4 separate regions of the Homo sapiens genome follow, and all the other regions are linked to region 1. The links are contacts of gene promoters, found by promoter capture Hi-C in blood cells and fetal thymus (Javierre and others, 2016). All regions are on one chromosome and are shown on one strand. Each heading gives the region's core, a stretch centred on a gene start or on the middle of the fragment in contact. The rest is flanking DNA. Distances are from core to core; before and after follow the strand shown.

Region 1 (2,929 bases), core at 139-2,638:
TCATTATTCGGGCAAATGCAAGTATGTTTTCTAGCTGAGTTCACCAATCCAAACCTCAAACCACATTCCTCCACTCCAGGCCTCCGTTCTGTCCGCGGACTTATGATCCTGCCTGCCAGCAGGAGTCTACCCTGAAGTCGCGTGGGATAGATAAAGTGAGGAGAGGAGGATGAATGGACAGACAAACGAGAGCAATTCTTCTACCTGTGGGCTGTCCTACGCCTTGCAGTGCCGGGTCCTGCGGCGACCACTGAGCCCCTTCGTCCTCGCCCTCAGTCCCTTCGTCCTCGTCTTCGGTCTCCGCTTTCCCAGTCGGCCGGGGCTCGTCGTCCACGACCCCGCACGTGCCGCCGACGTCGCCCTGCCGATTCCGCCGCAGGAGGTGGAACTGTAGTGGTGCCGGCGGCTTCTCCCCTGGGGCGGCGGTGGCGAGGCGCTCGCTGGCGGCGGGCAGCGGCTGGATGAAATACGCCTCCCCCAGCAGGTAGAAGGCGCCGCGCACGCCCTCGCAGAGGCTGAGGGCGGCAGCCGAGCTGGGATCGCCATTCACGGTGCCGGAGTAGAAGCAGTGCGCCAGGTCGGTTTCCGGAAGCGGCGTCTCGGACCCGGATTTGCGCCCCACGTTCTGGAGCGTGAAGCCGGGCGCCAAAAAGCTGCTGTCGGGCCGCAGCTCCAGATCCAGCTGCTGGTCAAAGGCGTGCAGGCGGAGGCGCGTGGTCCCGTGTCCCGGGGCGCGCTCCAGCTCCGGCACCACTAGCTCCTCGTCCTCCTCGGAGGGGCGCCCGAGTGCGTCCGACACGGCCAGTAGCGCCGCGGCGAGCAGCAGCAGCGTGGGTACTGGCCCAAAGCTCCGAGACCCCGGAGCCCGCTCCGCGTTCCCCATGTCGCTGCCCAGCTTGCGCCTTCCGAACCCCTCGGGCACAGCTCGCTGCATTGGAGCCCCAGGAGACACCGCTCGTAGCAGCGCACGGAGCGAGGGACCTTTAGTTCGGGTCGGGAGAGCAAAGCCTCGTTGGCCTGCTCTGGATTGTTAAAATTAACAATTTCTATTATTCGTTGGAAGGGCGCGCAGAGCCGGCTACAGCCGAAGCTCCCGGAGTCACTAAAAGGAGGCGCTGCAGTTCTGCCGGCGCGCGGGAAGTTTTTCTTCCAGCGCAAAGTTGGAGACACTGAGAGGCAGGCGCAGGCAGAGTGGCTCTGCTGGGACAAGAAGCGCTCTGGGGCGCCTCCGGGGCTGAGGCAACGCGGAGATTGGTGCCTGGCGCCCCTCTTCGGCCTCCGCCTTGGCTGCGATGTTGCTCACTCTGCTCAGGGCTCTCCCCTCTCCGTCCGGTAGCGCACCCTGGCTTTGCAATAGCCCCTGGCTCGGAGCCGCTTTCCAGCGAGTGCAAGAACCGGGCAGCCGAGCGGTCCTTTTATAGTGGACCAGTGAAACCCCCACCCCCACCCCACTCCTCCCCTTTGGCCCTTTTCCATCCCAAAGACGCCGCCCCCGGCTCCGTTGGTGCTAAACCGCGCTCCGCGCTGCGGGCTCGGGAGGGGGAGGGGGCAGCCTCCGCGCTGGCTCCACGCCACTGCTCGTCAATCTAGGGGCGGAAGGGGCGCTGTGACCAGCACTTTGTACTGCTGGGGCCGCTCCAGGGAGAAGACTCTCCCTTCCACCGCTTTTCTCCCTCGCCGGTTTCCTGGACCACCCTTCCTCCCCACCGCCCGGTTGCGGTAACTCAGTTACCGCGCTGGGCTGCGGTTCCCAGGAGGGAGGGTTCGGTTGGAGAACGCAGTCCCTTCTTCAACATTTCCCTATCCTGGAGCTGCCCTGGGTCTCCTTCCCTCCTCCCTCAGTTCCCTCTTCCCCAATCTAGGAGATGAGCTAGGGCTACACTTTCTAGAAAAATACCTCACCCCACTTCTCCACCTTCCCAGCCTGCCAGGAGCTCCTTAGCCGCCGCCTGCTCTCTCTTCGCCCCAGCTTTTCTAGGGAAAGCTTGGCCCTGCGCTTCCCCCAGAAAGCATGCCTGGGTGAGGGGCCAGGTGACACTTCCTACGATCTGGATTTTAAAATATGTTTGCTTATGCCTTCACCCTCCACCAACCCCCACCCCGCACGCCACCTCTTCACCAGAGACGACTTTGTGAGGGCCCGGTTTCACATTTCTGGAATGGGTGATCTGGGACGCGGCTCAATTCCCTAGAGCATAAGGAGGGAATTGCGCTTTTTCTTCTTCATTCGAGAAATGATCGGCTCCCGCCAGTCTGCGTGCTTTCACTCAACAGCAGCTGCAAGCCCTAGGCCAGCGTCGCAGAAACGGCCAGGAACCCCACTTTCCTACCCGGGGGCCAGCAGCGATCGCTGGGGCTAGCAAGCGTGCAGAGGGGGAAAGAAGGAAATCGGCTTCCTTCCCGGACCCCTCCTTCCTCTTCCTACCAGGAAGGGAAAAGGCTATATCCGCGTTACGAAAGCGAGGAGAGGTCCACCAACAGGTCCTTAGGAAAAAAAACTGAGTGGCTCTTCTCTCCAAAAAGTGGGAGGGGCTCAAGGACCCAGAGGAAGGACGTGTTTCACAGGCGGAAAGCCGCGGGGACAATGGCGAGAGCGACCGCCCTAGCCCCGGGCGGACCCGCAACCCTCACACTCGCGCGCCCCCGCGTTAGTGCTCGAACTGGTCTCCGCCTTTCCGCCCCACTCCCGTCCGGTCTCTTGGTTGGCTCCAAGTAGATCTGGGTCCTTTCCTCGCTCCTCCCCAGATCTTCCCCACTTCAGTTGGCCCCAGCCAGAAGCGTCCCTTCTAGTTCTCCCACACGTCCCTCTTACAAGCTTTCTTTTCCGGATGCTTTCCAACTTCTTTTTTCCTAGCGAGATTGCTTACTTGAAAAACAAAAACAAAAACATTGCTTTCCACTCATCAGGAAAAATCAAATGAGCAAGAAT
Region 2 (2,929 bases), core at 256-2,755, 740 kb after region 1:
TTACACATTCCTATCGCACGTAAAAAGAAGAAGTGGAGTTAGAATGCATTCCATGAGTATGCCTCGCTTTTAAGTATGTAATTATGAGCTGCAAACCATGAAACACTGTCTATGACACATCTTTAATGATACATTTTCAGAGCAGTACATCATAGCAACTGTGAGAAGTTAAAGCTTTAAATGAAGTCAATTCTATAGGATTCTTCTTTATATTAGGCTTTGATTGTCAATCTATGTATGCAACTTAAATACTATATATACATACATATAAAAACATACACCAACTATACAAATTAGAACATGTATATAAACTATATAACTGTATTTAGTATTAAAGTTATTTACACTTTGACAGCAAATTGTTTTTAAACATACGTGAGGTTATATCTGTTTCTTTGTATATTAATTAATATGTGTGTATAGATATATTATTTTAAAATACAGATATATATGTGTGTATATATTTTTTTCTTTAAATTTGGTTGGAAAAACTCTAGAAATATGTATTTTAAGATCAGAGCATAAAGAATTTCTATAATTTAAAATATTACAAATAAATAGCATCTGTAGCTTTGCTGGATATGACTAAACATTTCAATAACTCTGTTTTTGTATGATTCTATAAAAAATAATTAGGCTGAGTGCCATAGCTCATACCTGTAATCCTAGCACTTTGGGAGGCCAAGGTGGGAAGATTGCTTGGGCTTAGGGGTTAAAGCCCACTCTGGGCAACATAGCAAGACCTTGTCTCTACAAAAAATTAAAAAATTAGCCAGGCATGGTGGCTAATACCTGTAGTCCCAGCCACTTGGGAGGCTGAGGTAGGGGGATTACTTGAGCCCAGGAGTTTAAGGCTCCAGTGAGCTACCATCATATCACTGCACTCCAGCCTGGGTGACAGAATAATAGAATAATTGTATTTTATCATTTTTAATATGTTTGCTGTCCCATTTTGAATACATTTCATTTTAATTCATTTCTTGTTAGGGATGTTTTAGTGGGCATATATTATTTGAACCACTTAGCATCTATTCCCACTTCAAATGGAAATGCTCTGATTGACCTCTCAGGCTCCATGACTTGGCAGAAGTCATTGATACCCTGGTCTTGGGCTGGGCTGATTACTCAGTCCTAAGCAATCAAAGGATTGCACCTTCCTTACCTAACGCAGATCAGGGCCAACAAGAAAGGGATCGTGAGGCTACCAAATGCAGATCATACACTGATGCTCACACTTGTGGTACTTCTAATACAACTGCTAAACTAAAATGTATATTTATTGTTAATATTTCTTTCTTTTGTGAATTCATATTCTTCAACCTAATTTTAACTGAGCTATTCATATCTTATGAGTATTATTGATAAGGTATCTCCATTTTCTCAGTCTCATGTTTCTATTTGAAGAGAATTTCAGTTTGAATGATATTCCTGGCTTCTCTCTCCAATTATAACTCATTTTTCTCCATGGGGGATAATATGACTTAACTAAATGGTATGTTTGAGAGAAGAAACTGAGCATACTTAAACCACCCTCTTTACCTCAGAGCTAGAAGTGTTGGAGTGGGGCACACTCCAAAATTATTCTAGAATAATTTTTCTAGAATACATTTATTGGTTCTCAATTGTTGTGTTGTTACAAACTGCCACAAAACTGAATGCTTAAAACAACTATTAATATTTGGCTCACAAATGTGTGTAATCTGCCATTGTGGCTGGGGTCAGTAGTGCAGTTTTTTTCTGCTGGTTTTTGCTGGGCTCACTCATACATCTGCAGATAGTTGACGTGTAACTAAGTAACCTACCCCTGTTAATTGGCTAGCTATTGGCTGAGGTCTGGAAAAATGTCAGAAAAAAATATATTATTATTCTGAGACTGGGAGAGCAGAGAAAAAGCTGTTCTGGGGATTCAGATGATGACACCAAGATAGCTGGCAAAATTATCTTATAAATTTTGCCAAGATTATTTGCCAGGTAGAACATGGACAGTGTAATTTCGCTTATTTTGTTTCCTTTAATAAGAAATGAAGCAAAAGAGATGAGCTGAAGGAATTATTTATTTTGTGATCAGAATTTTGAGGAAATATACAGGGACCGGTTGGACAGAAAGACAACATTTCTTCTATCCTTAGTTTCAAAAGCGGCTAAAAGTTTCTTAAAATAAATGAGGCCTGTGGCCAAAAATTATTCAAACATGGATGTGAGACTCTTTAAAGCTCAGAAAGATTTTGAATCTGATAGACCATCTCAAGCTAGAAGAATGGATTTCAAGACTCTCTAGGCCTAGTCCCATAACAGCCCAACACTTGCCCAAAGTAGAGAGTGGGCTTTTTGGAAAGCAAATGTAGATATGGCTTTATTTTTTTTTCTAACATACTAGAGTATAATCCATTGTTTAGAAATCCCATGAACTCTTCAAAAGAATTTATCAGCGAATCAAAGCCAGTTCGGACTAAGGAGCTGGAAGTTCTCAAATTGAAAATAGGTTTCCGGGCCACCAAATATCTTTGAAAAGAAAACTGGATGAGAAAACTCTTTAGCTGCTGACACAGGTTGGTTCTCAGGGAAAAGGAAAACAGATCAGAAGGAAGAACCCAAAATCCAGAGGGTTTAGCTAAGATCTACAGAATTTGTAAATTATTTTAAACTGAATGAAATCATCCAGGTGCCGTGGCATGTGCCTGTAGTCTCAGCTACTCAGGAGGCTGAGGTGGGAGGACTGTTTGACCCCAGGAGTTCACGGCTATACTACAGTATGCTCATGTCTATGTTGTCACTGCACTCCAGCCGGTTGATATAGCCAGACCCTGTCTCTAAAAATAAACCAAACACATGAGATCAAGCTTAATAGTCTAAGAGCTATGTTTATTTATTTATAAATTTGCCTACCTGGGTGCTTCAATAGTCAACACACAAATCTGGCAATTCTCTA
Region 3 (2,929 bases), core at 253-2,752, 720 kb after region 1:
GATCAGTAAATACAACCAATTCTGATTTTGAAAATTGCCTCAGCCTTTTCAGGTCTTCATTTCCTCTGTTATAGAGGAATATCATAGAGGTAAAGTGCTAGTTTCCTAACAACATATTAAAGCTACATACAGTCAACATGACTTGTTGATATTGACCTTGGTCACCTAGTTAAGGTGGTGTTAGGTTTTTCCACTGTAAATTTACTATTTTTCAACTCTTTCCATATTGCACCCTTTGGAAGAAAGTCACTATTAACAGCTCATACTGAAGAAGTGAGTTGTTTTGATTATTTGGTATTCTTCTACAAGGCAGATTTGTTTCTTCTCTACTACCTATTCAATTGTGTATTGATATCTGTATGGACTCAGACATTGATTTTATAATTTGGACCATAATCCAATGCTACTTTGTTTGCTTTGTTGCCCAAATTGTTCTAGCTATGGACACTTGGAGCTTTTTCAGTTTGTTCCTCGGACCCTTTGACATGCCCCCATCATTGTGGGTTTTCTTTTCTTCCTTTTTTTTTTAGGACTTTCTGGCATTATAAGATATAGCCCTAGATTCAACTTGCATATTTCATCTATTTTTAAGTTATTAAATAGCATTTACTTTGTGATCCCATTTGGGGAAATACATGGAATTCAGATGCATGTATTATAATATGGAATAATATCAAACATTAATAGTGGTTATGCTATCTCCGGGTAATCGTACTATTAGTGATTTAGTTTTTCTCTTTATGAATCTTTATTTTTATTATGACATATTACTTGTGTTAGAAATCAATAATATTGGATGATCAGAAAGGAAATAAAAATATTCTGAAGGCAATAATAACTTATTTATAAATCAGTGAAGCCTGTGTCTCTAGACTGACAGGACATGAGGCAATTTTAGAGTGGCAGGTGCCCTCTACTGGTCAGCTGCTCAAACCCTCTATAGACTAAGAGCTGCATCCTTAAAAACAAAAGCCCACCATTTTCTTAGCACTGATATCTCAGGAGGTAAAAAAGTACTTGGGCTTTTGCTAGAGATTACATAGCTACATATCTGAGGGGTCACTACGTGAACTTAAAAATTGACTCCTATAAATGTGAAGTCTGTACTGTGGATTGTGAATTAGAAATGGATATGTGTGAGAACAGGCCTAGAAAAATATCACACATGCTGACTTGCCAATGTTGGACCTCTTGAGTCTAATCTACAAAAAAATCTCCTTGGATGAGAATATTTTGTTCATGACCTCTCTGCTGAGAATGTGACCATGTCTGCTACAGAGCTTAAATAAATAATGCTGAGACTATTCATTACAAAGCTCCCAAGGAGAAAAAAAAAGCAATTTATTTTATGTACTACCTTAATTAAGTTTAAACTGCCTAGTGTGAATTTTTGATGAAGAACAAAGATATAATAAGTGATTTTGCCTAGGGAAGCTCATGTGCTGAGTCAATACTTATTGAGCACAGTTCTCTTTTATATTAGATGCTGCTCTAAGAAGCTGCGTGCAATACAGCATCAGATGTTGCAGAGCTCTGCATATGGGGGGCTTGCACTTGTGAGCAGAAACAAACAATAGGCAATAAACTTGATAAATGAGTAAATGACTTGATTGGTAGCAGGCATAAAGAAAACCACAGTGTATTAAGGGCCACTGGGAGGAGTAGGGGTGGAGATGCAGCCAGCTTGCTGTACTAAGAGAAGAGACAGAGTAGGCCTCTTTAAGAAGGTGATGTTTGAGCAAACTAGCAATACATAAACAAATAAACCTTAAAATTCTTTTTTTTAAATTCTGAGAGTCATCTTTTATATAACAAACTGTAGTTATTTCTAATTCCTCCTAGGATAAAATGAAAAAAATTTAAGGAGGCCTCCAGGGCTTTGTAGATTCCAGCCTCAGCTTGGTTCTCCAGCCCATTTTTAACTAGCCCCTCTTTTTGTTTACTCTGTTTCAAGCATATTGATTTTTGTTTGTTTGTTTTACTTATTTTCTTTAATGACCAAAGCCATTCCCAACTCTGAATCTAAACACCTTTTTCCTCTGCCGGGATTCTGCCCTTGCCACCATTCCTACCCTTTAACTCTCAATTGAAATACCATTACCTCAATAAAACCTTTTCCGGGTCACACCAACCATCTCAAACTAACAACTCCCTGAATTTCACCTTCCAATGTTACCATGGTTATATTTAAATTCCTACGTAGTGAATTTTGTCTTCTCCCAGCCTCTAGCCACACTCTACTCCTGGACCGGAAGCATTTTGAGATCAGGGGCTTCATCTTGACTGTCTTCCCAGCACTTCGTATGGTAGCTCATAGTAGTCGCTTAATGGATATTTGTTGAACAAATGAGTCAAACTTTTTGTTTAGTTCCCTGCTGCCCCATATGGATAACCTTGATTATCTGAACATTTAGGGGAAATCTCATGGAGGCACCCTTTTATAGTACAGAATTTCCCTCATGCCTTCTTTGCTACGAGGTAAATTTAAATCATGGGTGCAAGGAGTCAGACATGACAGAGGCAGAGATTCTTGATTCAACAAGTATGTATGTCTATTTTCTCTTAGAAGCTCAAACTTTTGTATGTTCCACACTTTATATCACGCACAATGATGGAATTATGGGAAAGTGAAACATCGTAGTTTTGATTATAGTGGTGATTAATTTGGCACCGGTCTCAAAGCCGAAAAGAGAAAGGGGGAGAAGAATGGGGAGAGTCCCTGAACAGCTGATCTATGCTGCCAAAAGACGCAGCTTCTCAAATTACTTGGAGGAGCCAGAGATCCCTTAAATAAAAGGAGAGGTGTCTAGGTTTGTGCATTTAAAGAGACATATTCCTTTAAAGCAAATTTTTCAGCGCTGACTACACATTAGAATCACTAGGAAAGATTTTATGAATACAGGATATACAAGTCATACCCTAGGTCAAT
Region 4 (2,929 bases), core at 148-2,647, 700 kb after region 1:
AATATTTCCATTAAGGGGTTAAATCTTTATTTGGGTCAAGACGGACAATTAAATCATCTAAGCTCACTGTCAAATTTACTGATGCCATGAGTGAATGTGTGGGACATTTGGCTTCAGCAGTCAGCAAACGTCAGGGGACTGATATTTTCTTTCATATGCCATCTTTTCAGTCATATAGGATTAGAGGTTTGGAGTCTTTCAGATGCACATTGGATACATAGAGTTATATTAAAGGGATTTCCTTTCTTTCAAGTGGGCTCAGTAATAGGGAAAAATAAGAATTTTTTCAATATCTCATTTTATTGCAAATGTGGATTTTAGGACCATGATGATTAAATAAGCAAGTGAATGAGGTTGAGATTATAAGGTTGAAAGCCATCTCTGCTATTCGCAAAGGAAAGAAGAAGGCAGAGGTGGGGGTGGGGCAGAGAAGAAGGCTAGGAGGAGAGGACATGGCTGAAGGAGGAGATCATGGACTGGCATTCTGAATACTGGAACCAAATGCTTTTGAATGACATAACTGGGTTTGTGCTATAAAATCAGATGTTCTTCTGGTTTCTGAGTGTCATATGTTCACTGAAAAGCATTAGAAATAATAACAAAATAATTAATTTAATCAGCAGTCCATCCAGTTTCATAACAGATATTGAATTACTAAATCCTGTTTCTGAATTTTACCCCTCTGGTCGAATATAAAATGAATAGGGAAATTATTTTCACCGCTGAAGTTTATTATAGATATTCTCTGAACTTTGCTGCCCATTCAGAAGATCTTACCCTCTCAGTTATTGGCTATGTCTGAAGAGAAGCCTGTGGTGTTGTCATGAAAGCTGCGAAGACCCGTAAGTGAAAGAGATGAATATTAACCAAATGCCAAGAGCAAAGCAAATTATGTTTAGGTTAGGACCGTGTAACAACTTGGTTCCACTCATTTACAGTGGCTGTTCAAATTGATGAGCTGAAATGTTTATATGCTGATATCAACTCTGCCCTGGTTGATTTTTATTCTAGGGTATTTGCAGAGTTCCCACTTTCAAATGCACGTAGAGAAAATAATCCCCATCAGGACATCTGGCATTGTTTTTAAACTATCACTTCACTCAGCCTTTGACTGCTAATTTGTTTTTCTTTCTAACTTGTTTAATTTGGAACAATCTTGTTGTAGTCTTTACAGCCTCTCTGTGGTGTTTCTTCATTGTAAAAAACAATATGAAATGCAATACAAAGTCTTCCACCACTCACTCCATGAAGCATGCACTATAATATAAAACAGACAGGTTGCCAATGATGGGCATCCAATAGCCTATTATTTATTAATCTTTAGCATTGATATAAAAGAAGGAATAAATATATTATTTGGTAATTAACCATATTCTTCTGCTCCTGAATTCTAAATTTTTGAGAGGCCTTGATAATCAAAAATCAATAATACTTTACTTAATTATAAATTCTGGTTCACTTTGAAAAATGGTAGAGATTATTATATTTTTCAATTGTTTGAAACGATAAATTGTTCATTGGACTGAACAACGTGTCTTTTTCTCTTCAAATAATTTTATTTCCCCAATCTCCATGTAACCTTTATATATGGAAGTCGCACGCTAGAAACATGGATAATCATGTCATTCATCTCCTGATTGATTCAGATTTATTAATAATGGTACTTATGAGTATTAAAGGTATTTGACTTCCATCATCCACTACTGTGGTAGTTATGCTACTGCCCTATTTTTAAAAACCTAAATTCTAAAATCATTTTGATCAACCTCCAACCATGGACAAATTACTTCATACTTGGCTGTATGTACCTATTAAAAGATATACTATACAGTGCAATATGTCATCCAATGTTTTATCTGAAAATATGTATTCCAACTATAGTAGGTTACCAGGGGATCTAAAATGCCATATTATTTCAAAATCGAAGACATGTAGTTCATTTTAGTTAATGATTTTTAGAATTCAAGATTAGATATGGATCAGTCTACACTATTAAGTTTATTACATTAAGTCATCAGGAGAATAAGTAAAAGGGTGTTTTGCTTGTGGGAAAAAAAAAGAGACAAAAATATGTCTGGTTTTCAATTAGATAAAACCTTCAAACTGCTCAAGGCATGGTCTTTATTGATTTAAAAATAAAACCCAAAGTAATACATTATATATTCCTATTTAATTATGTATAAATATGATGGACTTAAAACATTAACTTTATTTCTTCTTATTTATGATCAGTTTAACTACAAATATAAGCTGTACCTTTGCATATCAAGTCCTATATTAAAAGATTATTCTTTTTGAGATTTAAAGAGCACATTTATAATATTTAATTAACTGTAGGAGGACTATTTTTGTAGATTTTGCAATTTGTTTCTCAGTTTAATATAATAGATTTTAATTAAAAATGTAGTTTCTATTCATTGGTGAGTATTGCATTATTCATCACCAGGGTACAGGATCTAACAAATATGTAACATTTTAAAATAGCAGTGTTGTCACATACTTTAGGGGCTCGATATTAAGTAGAAGGTGTTGTTTAATAATAGTAAAGGGAAAGACAAATAATTGTTTTTCTAGTCTAATTTGTTTTTGATATTCATAGCAAAAATCTCCTTTGGCTTCTATGATAAATACATATTTATCAACTGCCTTCCTTAGAGTATAAAGTAAAACAAAGAACTCTTGCCATGTCCCTAATCTAAAGTAAACCTGGTCATAAGCCAAATTATTCTGAAGTGCCTGCTAAATTTGAATCTTAGAATATTTGCCAAATGTGTAACTTGCCTTAACTGTGTATATTGTACAGTCAAATGTCAACAGTGTAGTTACATTGCTAAAAACCTTGGCTTTCAGCCTCATCTTGCAATTGAGTGCAGACATAACATATGAAAAATACATTTTATATAATCTAGTGTCAGTGGGCATGGTTACT

What was found. Contacts are between HindIII fragments. The CHiCAGO score rates a contact against its expected background, and 5 or more counts as called.
Region 2: a contact is called between a fragment that was not itself captured here and the fragment with the promoter of ADAMTS1 in region 1, in 3 of 17 cell types (M2 macrophages, M1 macrophages and M0 macrophages). The highest score is 6.1, in M2 macrophages.
Region 3: a fragment that was not itself captured here is called in contact with the fragment with the promoter of ADAMTS1 in region 1 in 5 of 17 cell types (M2 macrophages, M0 macrophages, M1 macrophages and 2 more); the score reaches 19.0 in M2 macrophages.
Region 4: a contact is called between a fragment that was not itself captured here and the fragment with the promoter of ADAMTS1 in region 1, in 1 of 17 cell types (M2 macrophages). The highest score is 8.9, in M2 macrophages.

Annotation. Positions count from the first base shown.
Region 1 is chr21:26,844,021-26,846,949 of GRCh38, forward strand. It overlaps ADAMTS1 (ADAM metallopeptidase with thrombospondin type 1 motif 1), which reads right to left and starts at 1,389. Exons shown (of 9, transcript NM_006988.5): 1 at 205-1,389. The coding sequence starts at 934. RefSeq lists enhancers at 1,573-2,173, 2,174-2,773. The HindIII fragment of the contact is 3,865 bases long and covers 1-1,982 here.
Region 2 is chr21:27,581,319-27,584,247 of GRCh38, forward strand. No RefSeq gene overlaps it. Among named protein-coding and RNA genes, the nearest start is that of LINC01673, 56 kb to the right of the region's middle. The HindIII fragment of the contact is 2,666 bases long and covers 173-2,838 here.
Region 3 is chr21:27,563,963-27,566,891 of GRCh38, forward strand. No RefSeq gene overlaps it. Among named protein-coding and RNA genes, the nearest start is that of LINC01673, 73 kb to the right of the region's middle. The HindIII fragment of the contact is 4,324 bases long and covers 1-2,929 here.
Region 4 is chr21:27,547,702-27,550,630 of GRCh38, forward strand. No RefSeq gene overlaps it. Among named protein-coding and RNA genes, the nearest start is that of LINC01673, 89 kb to the right of the region's middle. The HindIII fragment of the contact is 3,738 bases long and covers 1-2,929 here.